Linked DNA regions of Homo sapiens: all the other regions are linked to region 3. Evidence: promoter capture Hi-C in 16 types of primary human blood cells and fetal thymus (Javierre and others, 2016). All regions are on one chromosome and are shown on one strand. The core of a region is centred on a gene start or on the middle of the fragment in contact, and the rest is flanking DNA. Distances in the headings are between cores, read along the strand shown. Region 1 overlaps CES2 (carboxylesterase 2). Region 2 holds the start of PDP2 (pyruvate dehydrogenase phosphatase catalytic subunit 2). Region 3 holds the start of PHAF1 (phagophore assembly factor 1). Region 4 overlaps LOC107984821 (a long non-coding RNA gene).

The links. The method cuts DNA at HindIII sites, captures the fragments that hold promoters and counts their contacts. A CHiCAGO score of 5 or more calls a contact.
Region 1: a fragment that was not itself captured here is called in contact with the fragment with the promoter of PHAF1 in region 3 in 3 of 17 cell types (erythroblasts, M1 macrophages and megakaryocytes); the score reaches 7.5 in erythroblasts.
Region 2: a contact is called between the fragment with the promoter of PDP2 here and the fragment with the promoter of PHAF1 in region 3, in 4 of 17 cell types (M2 macrophages, total CD4 T cells, M0 macrophages and 1 more). The highest score is 5.8, in M2 macrophages.
Region 4: a fragment that was not itself captured here is called in contact with the fragment with the promoter of PHAF1 in region 3 in 1 of 17 cell types (endothelial precursors); the score reaches 5.5 in endothelial precursors.

Annotation. Positions count from the first base shown.
Region 1 is chr16:66,937,580-66,940,376 of GRCh38, reverse strand. CES2 (carboxylesterase 2) reads right to left here. Exons shown (of 12, transcript NM_001365405.1): 2 at 2,136-2,340; 3 at 1,019-1,160; 4 at 22-155. Among named protein-coding and RNA genes, the nearest start is that of CES2, 3.5 kb to the right of the region's middle. The HindIII fragment of the contact is 939 bases long and covers 911-1,849 here.
Region 2 is chr16:66,878,933-66,882,086 of GRCh38, reverse strand. It overlaps PDP2 (pyruvate dehydrogenase phosphatase catalytic subunit 2), which reads right to left and starts at 1,572. Exons shown (of 2, transcript NM_020786.4): 1 at 1,447-1,572. RefSeq lists a silencer at 1,119-1,298 and enhancers at 758-1,530, 1,779-1,858. The HindIII fragment of the contact is 2,608 bases long and covers 541-3,148 here.
Region 3 is chr16:67,108,353-67,111,393 of GRCh38, reverse strand. PHAF1 (phagophore assembly factor 1) reads right to left here and starts at 1,453. Exons shown (of 16, transcript NM_025187.5): 1 at 1,155-1,453. The coding sequence starts at 1,218. RefSeq lists a silencer at 1,318-1,577 and enhancers at 1,137-1,878, 1,879-2,621. The HindIII fragment of the contact is 22,954 bases long and covers 1-3,041 here.
Region 4 is chr16:66,897,683-66,900,873 of GRCh38, reverse strand. It overlaps LOC107984821 (a long non-coding RNA gene), which reads left to right. Exons shown (of 3, transcript XR_001752244.2): 2 at 206-281; 3 at 381-1,185. Among named protein-coding and RNA genes, the nearest start is that of PDP2, 19 kb to the right of the region's middle. RefSeq lists enhancers at 1-870, 871-1,766. The HindIII fragment of the contact is 773 bases long and covers 1,295-2,067 here.

The DNA of each region.
Region 1 (2,797 bases), core at 131-2,630, 170 kb after region 3:
CCAGCCCAGCCCTAGTCTCACCTGAAGAAGCCCAGGACACCCAGGCGGTACTGGATGATGACCACCACCACGTTCTCCAAGGCAGCCAGCATGGAACCATCATACAAGGAAGCCATGCCAAAAACAAGCGCACCACCGTGGATCCACACCATCACCTGGGGAAATCAAGGCAGCTACCATGATGCTCCCACCCAGCCCAAACCCCACCAGGGCCACTACCTAGACCAACCAGTGCTTTGCCTCTGTCTACCTCCCCATTAGATCTCCAGCACAAATTCATTACATGGGCAAATGGTTAGGCACCCAAGATCTATCAGGAAGACCAGGCCTCCCAATCTTTGCAATCGAACCCCCTGTATCAAAGCCTGGGTTCATTAACCCCAGATAATTCACCAAAGTGGAAAGAAAAGGGGTGTCTCCCTGATGGCTCCACATGAACATTAACCAAAAATGTCCTTAGCCTGAACCACATAGTGAGACCCCGTTTCAACAGAAAATGTTTTAAAAATGAGCCAGGCATGGTGGAATAGGCCAGTAGTCCCAGCTACTCGGGAGGCTAATCTGAGAGGATCATCCCGGATTTCGAGGTTACAGAGAGGTATGTTCATGCCACTGCATTTTAGCCTGGGCAACAGAGCATGATGCCATCTCTAAGAAAAAAAGTTTTTGTGTGTGCCCATTCTATAGGCCCAACAGATTATCCATGGCTGGGGTTCTTGGTCACCTCAAGGTGCAGCCCTTTGGCACTTAAGTGGATCTCCTGGCATGAGTTGGCTGAGTGAGTCCTGGGTCCAGCCCAGAGCCACAGCCTTTGACCTCTGGGAGCAGCCAGAACTCTGTGACCCCATGTCCAGGGGCCAGCTGCCCAGTCTGGGTAAGGAGCATTTCTTGGACCTGACAGTGAGAAGCTTCTCAGCATGGTCCACTCTGAAGCAGGGCCTGAGCTAATATTGTCCTTTTCAGCTTCTTGCAGAAGAACTGTCCTCCAACCCCCAGTGAACTGTGGCCTGACACCCACCGGCAGGTTAGAGCCTTCATGGCTATGGGCCGGCGTGTAGATGCTGAGGTACAGGCAGTCCTCAGACATGGAGTCGGAAGGGAAGGTCATGTTGAACTGGCTAAGAAACTCTGACTCCACTGCGGTGAGGTCCTGTAGACACCTGGTAACCAGGGCAAATAATCAGTCCAGGGGCCAGGCTGTGGCCAAAACCAGACCCTGGGTTCAGAGGTGCTCCCAGCCACCCTCAGACCCTTCCCACAATATCCTGCTCACACATGATCCCTCTCAAAAATCCCTTCCCACCAAGTTACAGGCCACAGGCTCTGGGGAAGCTGGGATGCAGCTTGGACTTCCAGGGAGGCCTCGAGGTTACTGAGGACCTTGGGTATCATTCCTCGCACTGCCGGAAACCTTGACTCTTAGGGGTTTCTATGAGAACCATTGGCTGCATGTGTTGACATTCACCACTATATTCCTGTAACCCGTAAGGCCTGGGACAGGGGAGTAGCCCACATATGTGTGCTACATGAGTGAATGGATGTTAATTTCTCATGAGAAGGGCAGTGGGATGTCTCTCATCCCAAGTCTAAACTCTCAAAAACTCATCATTCCTACATGGCCTCCAGTTGGAAACATATACATATACATATACATGTCTCTTGGCCAATGGCTCCTGGTCCTGTCAGTGGACACAGTGCCTGTGGAGAGTGCAGGTCCCCAGAAAGCTACCACTACTGTTCTCTTCAGGTATTTGCAACATCTGCCACTAGAGTTAGGGGCTCCTACAAGGTTCATAGAGCCAACCCGAACCTTTCCCAGAGACACCTGCCACTGGTGGCAGAGAAAGCTTGGCATAACCAGAATCTGGGGAGATACGTGTGTCTGCCCCTCCCTTCGGCACCTGGAGCCAATGTCTTCTGAATGCCAAGCCCTGATCCAGGAGTCTGAGAAGTTATTCTGCCCTCCTGAGCCTCAGCATGCTCATTGGAAAAATGCACGTGGGAATCCACGAAACTCAGAAGGAAAACTGGCTGTGGGGGTTTAGATGAAATGATAACTGCAGCCTAGCTGAGCTCAGAGCACCCCCACCCCTGCCCCAGGGCCTGGAGTTCCCTGGACCCCTTGGAGAGCTTACATGGCCGGATGGGTGGTTCCATCCCTCACACCACTCCAAGATTCAGGGGGCTCAGGGGGTGCAAATCGCAGCGGACCTAGAGGTGGCTTGGCAAATGGAATTCCCAGGAAGGTTTGGACCCCGGCATTGGCGCCCTTCACATGGACAAGACTCCCCAGCACCTGCCCCGTGTGTGTGGTCCGGATGGGACTGGCTGAGTCCTGGCCTGTGGGCAGAGAGACAGACATCACGGTTGGGTTTGACCAATCGACTGCCCTCCCAACTGTTGGTATTGCTGCTTCCTTGCCATCCTCATCTTAGCTCAAGGGACTCTGATCTGTAAACATGGGCTTTACAAACTTCCTGCCTGTAACACTCCCTTCCCGCTCTGGCTTCCTGGGCCTGTCTCCATCCCACCAGGCTGAGGCTCCTTGGGGCCAGGCATCATCATTCAGCCCTAGGACCTTCAAACAAAGGGTCACATGCCCTTGATGGGACTAGAGTGTCCTTCAACTGTGTGCCAGGTCATGTGACAGTAGGATGATGGTGGGAATTGGGCAGGCAAGTTTCTTGTCCTCAGGGATGTCATGTCCAAAGTGGCAAGAAATCATGTAAAGAAAGCATCATCCAAACCATGAGTGATGTTGGTGAAAAGAGGTGCAAGAGAAAAGTATGGCTGTGGC
Region 2 (3,154 bases), core at 323-2,822, 230 kb after region 3:
ACATTTTGACATAAATAATCACAACTTACTTAACTATTCTTTACGGCTGGAAATTTAGAGGTTGTTTCTACTACTTGCTATTTATTAATATAAAATACCAAACTGGACTGGGCACAGTGGCTCATGCCTATAATCTCAGCATTTTGGGAGGCCAAGGCAAGAGGATCACTTGAGGCTAGGGAGTTTAAGACCACCCTGGGTGATACAGCAAGTGCCCCATCTCTACAAAAATTTTTAGATTAGCTGGGCATGGTGGTAAGTGCCTGTAGTCCCAGCTACTCAAGAGGCTGAGGTGGGAGGATCGCTTGAGCCCAAGATTTCAAGACTGCAGTGAGCTATGATCACACCACTGCACTCCAGCCTGGGCGACAGAGCCAGATCTGTCTCTTTAAAAACAACAACAACAACAAAACCCCACCAAACTGTACTGCTTTATGCAGTAACCTTTTCTCTACTTAGGTTTTATCCTAGTTATTTCCCAAACAAGGAGTCAGTAGGTCCAAGGGTGTAGACTCATTGCCAAACTGATTTCCAAAAGCTTCACATCTGCCTCCTCAAGGGGGTGACGAGTTTCCTAGTCCCTTCACTAGCCCTGGTGGTACTTTTCCTTGGAATATAATAAATTAAATTAAATTAAATTAAATTAAATTAAATTAAAAAAAAAAAAACAGAACAAAACCTTGACCCATTATAATGAGCTTTTCATGTATGAATCCTGCCCTCGGGATCTCGAGATCATTTGTCGGGACCTCAAGAGTTCCCAGGACTGAGGACCGTCCCTTCACTCCCCCACCCCCTGCCAGCCCACCCCGCAGAAGTCGGTGCGGGGGCGGTCTGTCCGGGAGCAGAGGGCGCCTGACGCTCCGGCCCTGCAGTCAAGGCAGGCAGCGGTGCAGGGTGATACACCGCAGCCAGGACGCAAACCCTCTTGCATCCTTAAAGAAAACAGACAGGTCCCAAGTTCAAATCTCTGACTTCAGCCTCATCGCTAAGTGCATGGACTCCGGAGCCCACCAAAACCGATCTCCCTAGAACCCCGGCACGGCCGTACCCCAGCTGGGTGCCCCCGGGCGACCCGCTTGGTGCCTCTGAGCCCCGGCTTGCCAGCCTGTAAAACAGGGGCGTGCAGTCGGGACACAGAGCTCCAAGGGGTGCTCGATAGGCCAGAGCAGCTAGTGGGGTGCCCCGGTAGGCAGCCAAGGGTCCTCGGCGAGCCCGCGGGCCCACGTGGCGCGCGCACGTGAGTGGGGTGACCGTGGTCGTAGGCCCAGCTGGTCCCTCTCCGCCGCGGACCCGCCCCCTCACCTCAGCTCTCCCTCCGCCCAGTCACCTGAGCCGGTGCCGCAGGCCGGGAGGGTCAGGCGCCGGCGAGGCCTGGCGGGGAAAGAGGTGTCCACATCCCCCGCTCGTTACCTTCCCTACCTCGGACCCTCGCCCGCTTCTCACCAGCTGGCGAGGCCACAGCCGCCCGCTCCGTCCGGTCAGTTCAGCGCCTGCGCACAGTGCCACAACTGCGGCCACCAGGTCCTCACCTCACCCAGGCGGTCCCTAGTCAGGACCCAGCTCCAGAAGGAAGCGCCCTCCCGCCAGCCCTGGTTGGCTCAATTGCGGAGGCGGGCCCTTGATGGACAGAGGTATTGCCCAATGGCTAAAGAGGATGAGAGGCGGGCAGAAAGGCGGGACCCGGGAGGGGGCAACACCGCCCCTTACCCCCTGCCTGGGTGCTGAAAGTGTTCGAGCGCGGGGCCACAGGACCAGGCAGTCACGTGCCTGAGATCGCCAGCTACGTGGCCGCTACACTCTGCATACCCCGAACCCAGCGGCCTCCCCAATTCCTCACCGTTGTTAGAACACCTCACTGCTTCCTCTCCACTTCGGTGTCGACCACTCCAGAACCCTCTCTTGAGCGCCACACCCTGATGTCCAGCCACCTGGACACCTGCCTCTGGAGGCCCCCAGGCGCCTCAAACATAACTTACCCCAAACTCAGCTTTCTGCCAAACTTGCTTTTTCTCTTCTCTCCTAACCCAGTAATGGCCCCACCATCTGCCCAGAGACCCAAGCCAAAACCCTGGGAGGCATCTTGACTCCTTCCTCTCCCTCACCCTCTCTTTCCAGTTATCTAATGCTGTAAATCCTATCTCCTAAATCTCTCTCCACTCATCCATCCGGCGACGCAGCCACCCTATTCCAAGCCTCTCACTTGATTTTACGGTTTTCCCTCCTCCACCTTTGACTTGGTCCTAACCACAGAGCAGAGCAGCCAGAATGACGCCCCTCCCACCTTTTCTCGTGGTTGGTGGGTAGAGACAAGGTCTTTCTATGTTGCCCAGGCTGGTCTCAAACTGCCGGGCTCAAGCAATCCTCCCACCTCAGCCTCCCCAAAGTGCTGGGATTACAGACGTGAGCCATCACGCCTGGCAGAATGACACTTCTAAAACTCAAATTCCAAGGCCGAGTGCGGTGGCTCCTGCCTGTAATCCCAGCACTTTGGGAGGCCGAGGCGGGGGGATCTCCTGAGGTCAGGAGTTTGAGACCAGCCTGGCCAACATCACGAAACCGTCTCTACTAAAAATACAAAAATTAGCTGGGAGTGGTGGTGCGCGCCTGTAGTCCCAGCTACCTGGGAGGCTGAGGCATGAGAATCATTTGAACCAGGGAGGTGGAAGTTGCACTGAGGTGAGATCATGCCACTGCACGCCAGCCTGGGAGACAGAGTGAGAGTCTGTCTCAAAAAAAACAAAAACAGAAACAAAAACAAACCAAAAAAACCCTCAAATTCCTGCCCTAAAGTCTTTTTTTTTTTTTTTTTTTTTTTTTTTTGAGACGGAGTCTCGCTCTGTCGCCCAGGCTGGAGTGCAGTGGCGGGATCTCGGCTCACTGCAAGCTCCGCCTCCCGGGTTCACGCCATTCCCCTGCCTCAGCCTCCCAAGTAGCTGGGACTACAGGCGCCCGCCACTACGCCCGGCTAATTTTTTGTATTTTTAGTAGAGACGGGGTTTCACCGTTTTAGCCGGGATGGTCTCGATCTCCTGACCTCGTGATCCGCCCGCCTCCGCCTCCCAAAGTGCTGGGATTACAGGCGTGAGCCACCGCGCCCGGCCTCCTGCCCTAAAGTCTTTAGTGGTTTCCCACAAACCATTAAGCTTTGAAC
Region 3 (3,041 bases), core at 204-2,703:
CCACCCCCTTTTCTTAGTGCTGGGACATCAAAGTAAACACACAGGGGTTACTGAATGCAAACATCCTTGTACACATAAAAGTAGTGATGCTGGAAATGGAGAGGGTGAAGGGAGAAGGCTGGGCCAGCAAACCCCAAAACGACCAAACTGCATTTTTTAGAAACTAAATGTTACTTCTCCCTAACTCCTATTTCATCCAACCTTCACCTGTCACAACTGAGGTCTGGGTTTAGGATTACAGCATCCGATACAGACTATATTTCAAAAGAGAGAGAAGCGGGGCCGGGTGCAGTGGCTCACGCCTGTAATCCCAGCACTTTGGGAGGCCGAGGTGGGCGGATCACGAGGTCAGGAATTCGAAACCAGCCAGCCTGGTCAACATGGTGAAACCTCGTCTCTACTAAAAATACAAAAATTAGCCGGGTGTGGTGGCGCGTGCCTGTAATCCTAGCTACTGGGGAGGCTGAGGCAGGAGAATCGCTTAAACCCACGAGGCGTTAAGTTGCAGTGAGCCAAGATCACGCAACAGCACTCCAGCCTGGGCGACAGAGCGAGACTTCGTCTCAAAAAAAAAGAAAAAAAAGAGAGAAGCAAGTCAGCTGTTCCTTTAATACACACAAACTCAACTCCCTTGACCAGAGCCCCAACATCTGATCATGGGTTCCAAGCCTAGGTTTCCCCTCCTAAAAAGGGGAAGGAAGCCACAGCCCAGAAAAGCAGTGGGAGACAGACCACAGGCCACAGTGATGATCAGAGGGGTCAGCCACTTCTCAGCCATTATTTAGTCTGTAAAATGGAAATGGGAATAACAACAGTACCTATCCTCAGGTGCCGGCGAGGGGTACTAGAGAGAATTACGTCCAAAAAGAGCAGGGCCGGGCATTAGGCATTTGGGGAGAGCAAGCTATTATTGTCTTTACTACTACTGTTCCACCGTCCCAGAAGAGACCCTGCTGAGACCCGAGACGAGCAACTGACAGGCAAATCGGGCCAGTTGGAGCGGGTATCTAGTGCCTGGAGCCCAGCGAGCCGAGAGGACGAAAGAGGTGAGGAGCTGCGGGCGCAGGGGCGTGAGAGACTGAGAACAGGTGGGAAGAGCCCAGGAGAAAGCAAGGATCAGCGAATGGGGTCCTGACAGAGGACCCCAAACTCACCCAGCGTGAATTCCCATTGCTCGTTCCCCAGAGAGCGTTCGGGCACTACCTCCAGGTCCAGCATTGGTTCGGCTCGCCTGGCCCGGGCGGCCTCCCTGCGGCAGCGCAGAAGGGACCCGAGCTAAGGAGACAAAGCAGCGGCTGACAGGCCGCCCCCGCCGGCCCGCCACAGCCCCGCTTTCCACCTCCTCCCCGGCGGCAGCGGCAGCAGCACCGGCCCAACACCACACCTCACCTCACTTCACCTCACCTGCAGCAGCCGCGGCAGCGGGGGCAACGACGGCGGCGGGCGCGACTGCAGTAAAAGTGGCGTGCCGGGCCGTAAAGCGCGGGGAGGGCCGGGCGAAGGCGGGAGTGCCAGCGCGAGGGAGGAGCCTGGGGCGGAGCCGCGCACGCGCAAACTGCGGGTCCCGCCGCCGTCTCTGCGGAGGCTGAGTCGGGCAGGGCTGTAACGTTGGGAACTGTTCGGGCTCTAGGAGCAAGGAGCCCAGTACTTCGTGAGCCCCTACATCTGTGCACCACAGCACACACACTTCACATATCTACATAAAGAAGGGTTCACCACACAACACACACGTCACACAGCTGCACAAGACCCGTCTGCTGTCTACACACACGTCCCACTCACGTTCACTGGTAGCAGAAGGCAAGTACAGAGGGCACGCTGAGGCCCAGCAGGAGGGAGGACGCGGAGTCCCTAAGCCTCACGGCCCCCACCGTCTCCGTTGGGGCCGGAGGTGACGCTGGCCGCAGCAGCTTTTAGTTGTTCAGGAATGACGGCCCCACCCAGTCGCCCCTGGGGCAAGGGTCGAACCGTAAGCGAGTGAGGACTGTGGGCGTTAGGGGTCGGAATTGGTTCGGGGAGAGGACTGGGTAGAAGAGGAAGGGGCCAGGCCAGGCCTCCCTGCTGACCACATCCAAATGTGCGCAGTCCCCCGGGACCAGGATCCGAAGCCGCCGGCAGCAGCGTGGACCAAAGCTGTGGGGGTCTTGATCAACCCCTTGGCGCTTTCTGTGCCACAGTTTTCCTAATCTGCAAGGGACAGGAAGGTTCCTCTAGCAGGTTCAGCCTGAGGTTTTGGCCCGTGCCCCGGGACACCCTGAAACTAAAGGACAGCCGAGGCCTATGCTGATGCCAAGCCTTCACGGAGGCAGTCTCTGGGTTCTCACAACCAACCTGAGATGCGAGATTATACCGACTTTACATAGGCGAATACATGAGGCCCAGAGATGTTAAAGACCCAAGGCTCCTTGGTTCTAGGCGCAGAACCCAAGTCCTTTCCATTACATTGCCCCTGGAAGAAGGTTTTCAGTAGGGGAGAGAGTGGCATACTAAATTCTCAAACTGGCTTGATACTAGCGTTTCTTTGGAGGCTCTATCAAAATTTGAAGTCGCTGTTTGATTAAAATGAACTACATGGAGAAGGTTGTCCACTGCAGCATTGTATGCCAAAACAACAGAACTGGGTCACTGAGATGTCCAGTAGGGAAGTGGCTAAATAAACCGTGATATAGATAGATAGATAGATAGATGATAGATAGATAGATAGATAGATAGATAGATAGATAGATAGATAGAGATATGTTTTTAAAGGTGAATGCTGAGAGCAGTGCTCACAGCGGTAATACCAGCACTTTGGGAGGATGAGGTGGGAGGATCGGTTGAGCCCGGGAGTTGAGACCAGCCTGGGCAACATAGCAAGACCCAGTCTCTATTAAAAAAAAAAATTAGCTGGTGTCATGGCAGTAGGTTGGGCCAGGAGTCCTAGCTACTCAAGAGGCTGAGAGGTGGGAGGATAGCTTGAGGATAGCTGCAGTGAGCTGTGATTATTGAGCCCCGGGGCTCCAGCCTGGATGACAGAGCAAGATCCTGTCTCTAAATAAATA
Region 4 (3,191 bases), core at 432-2,931, 210 kb after region 3:
TGTGCTCAGGGGATTGGGACACACTGCAAAGTTTCCTTAAGGCTGGAAGTCGCCTGATAGGCACCGGGGGGTGGGAGAGTGGGGGCGTGGGAGGTAGGGGGCAGGCAGAGGGTTGAACAGAATATTTATTTGCTGAGCTGGAATTGAGCCCTAGTCCCTTTCCCAACACAGACTTATCTCTTCCCCCCACAACCATCCTCACCAGAATTTTGGCCAGAAACAAGAGGAGTCCTGTCCGAGGAGAGCCCGGCTGGCTGACTGGAATCCCAAGACATGCCAAGGTGTTAGAGGCACTGCCAGGGAGACCCCTCGGCCCTTCACACAGTGGCTATCCTCTGGGATATTCCTGTATCCACAAAATGTATTTTCTGCACACACAGGTCCCTGGGAAATGACAGGACACCCAGATCTGCTGGGAGCAGAGTTCTCATAGGGTCCCAGCTGAGCCCTGGAACTCCCCAGACCCCCTCTGCCACTCCATCTCTGCGTCAGCCCAGCACCTGTGCCCTATCCGGCTTTGGCCACCATCTCCACCCTGGGGAGGGGGAGCATAACCCCCTCCAGCCTGAGGTTGGCGCCAAGGTTTAGGAGCCAGCACAGAAGCCTCTGAGAGCCATAAGGGTAGAAAAGGTTACCCGGTACTAAACCAGCCAGCCTCGGGGTGATCTCATCCACTTCCCAAGATAAGCCCCCTCCCCCACCCTCTGGCCACTGGCCAACAGGGTAAGTCACGAGGGAGCTGGTGGAAGAGTGTGTGTGAGGGCTGGGGGAAGGATTTCAACTTGGGGTCACACTGTACATTCTGTTTTGTGATCAATTCCCCCCAACATTTACAGTATTGACAATTAGCAGTTTCCTGTCAGATAAACTATAAAGATCTTCCCCCATCACTTTTTCTTTTCCTAATTATTTCTAAAGTCTGCCAGGATGGACACATCAGAATCTCTTTGTCCAGCCCTTGAGGAGGACATGTAAACAGTGTCCAGTTTCTCTTTCTTACAAACACCAGTGCCATAACCATTTTTGTTCAAATCCTCTTACGCAATTGCCTCTCTCTCTCTCTCCCTTTCTCTCTTTCTCTCTCCCTCTCTCTATTTCTCACTCAGTTGAGATAAATTCTGCCTGGTAGCAGGTGGGAGGGCAGGCCTCACTGTGTGCCTGAGTAGTTCTGGGCCCTTCCCCAAGCCAGAGGTGCCAGGCCCAGGGCAGAGGCCAGTCCAGGGCCACAGGGTCAGGACAGTGGACAGGCTATGGTCTGCTGGACTCTGCCTGCTCGAGGCGGGCTCCCCAAGCTTCCACCTGCTCTTGCCCACCCCCAGCCCCAAGGACTAGGCTGGCCTGGACACAGGGAAAGGCCATATACAGGGTATCACATGACCCATGCGTGCACACAGCCCCCAATCCCAGGCATAGGCAGAGGTCCCAGCCTCAGGGTGGGGCCCCCACACTCCGTCCAATTCACATCTTGCCTAGTGCTCCCCAGCTCTTGCTAGAATGCTTCCATAGACCAACAGCTCACTCTCCCTCCTAAGTTGCTGCCCGGCCTTTGGGGAGCAGGTGGAGCACATGCTTCTTATCAAATCAATACCTATTCGGTAGAATCACATGATTGCTGAGGAAGGTTTGGATTCAGACACCAGGGTTTCAAACTCGACTCTGCATTTACTATTTTTGTGACCTTGGGCACAACCTTTTACATGCCCAGGCTCAGTTTCTTCATCTGTAAAATGGGTTAATAATACTTGATCATAGGGTTGCATGAAGATTAAATGAGATAATACATGTAAAGTGCTCAGCAAGGCTCACAGATGTGACCTAGTTTATGATCACAAATTATCACAAATTGAGTCCCTACTATGTCCAGTTAACAGAGAGACTCCCTCACTGGAAGCAACTCAGAGTGGCTGAAGCACAGAAGTGGTAGAGGTATGAGATGGGGTTGAAGAGTGGGCAGGGCCAGGTCACACTCAGCCTTGCACATCATGAAGGGATTGTGACATTTTTCTGACTCCTTGGAAGCAGGGGAGGATGGTGGGAGGCAGAAATGGGAGGATGTCACTGAAAGCTTTTATTATTTTTTTTAATGATTTGTTTGTTTGTTTGTTTGTTTGTTTTAGAGACAGGTCTCTATTGCTCAGGCTGGAGTGCAGTGGCATGATCATAGCTCACTGTAACCTCAAACTCCTGGGTTCAAGCGATCCTTCTGCCTCAGCCTCCCAAGTGGCTGGAACTACAGGGGTGTGCGACCACTCCTGGCTCATTTTGTTCAACATTATTTTGTTACAACATTGATGAAGAAAAAAATCTATTTCTGGCTGGGGCTACTGTCTGTGTGGAGTCTGTAGAGGACTTTCTCTGGGTACTCTGGTTTCTTCCCCCATCCCAAAGATGTGCATGTTAGATTAACTAGCTTGTCTGCATGCTCCCAGTCTGCATGAGTGTGAGTGTACTCAAGGCAATGGCATCCTGTCTAGGCCTGGTTCCCGCCTGGCGCCCTGAGCTGCTGGGATAGGCTCCAGCCATCCATGACCTTGAACTGGAATAACTGGATAAATAATTCTATTACTTGTTTTTATTAATCTTTCTTTCTTTCTTTTTTTTTTTTTTTTTTGAGATGGAGTTTCACTCTTGTTGCCCACGCTGGAGTGCAATGACACAATCTTGGCTCACTGCAACCTCCGCCTCCTGGATTCAAGAAATTCTCCTGCCTCAGCCTCCTGAGCAGCTGGGATTACAGGTGCCCACCACCAAGCCCGGCTAATTTTTGTATTTTTAGGAGAGACAGGGTTTCGCCATGTTGGCCAGGCTGGTCTCAAATCCCTGACCTCAGGTGATCCACCTTCCCCAGCCTCCCAAAGTGCTGGGATTACAGGTGTGAGCCACCACACCTGGCCTTGTTTCTATTAGTCTTTCTTACACGTGTTTCAATGTTTAATATGAGAAGCATTTGGGTCTTTATTTAGAAGTCTGATGATATTTCTATCACCAGAAATATGCTGTAGGAACTTAACTCTTGTTTATGTCAATTAGCCTATGACAAAATTGGTTTCCTTGTATGTCATTTTGCTTAAAGCTGCAATTTCCAAGAACTACATTAAGTGAGGACATTATATAAAGACTTACTATATTCTATTAGTTGTTGTCAGGCCTCTGAGCTCAAGCTAAGCCATCATATCCCTTGTGACCTGCAC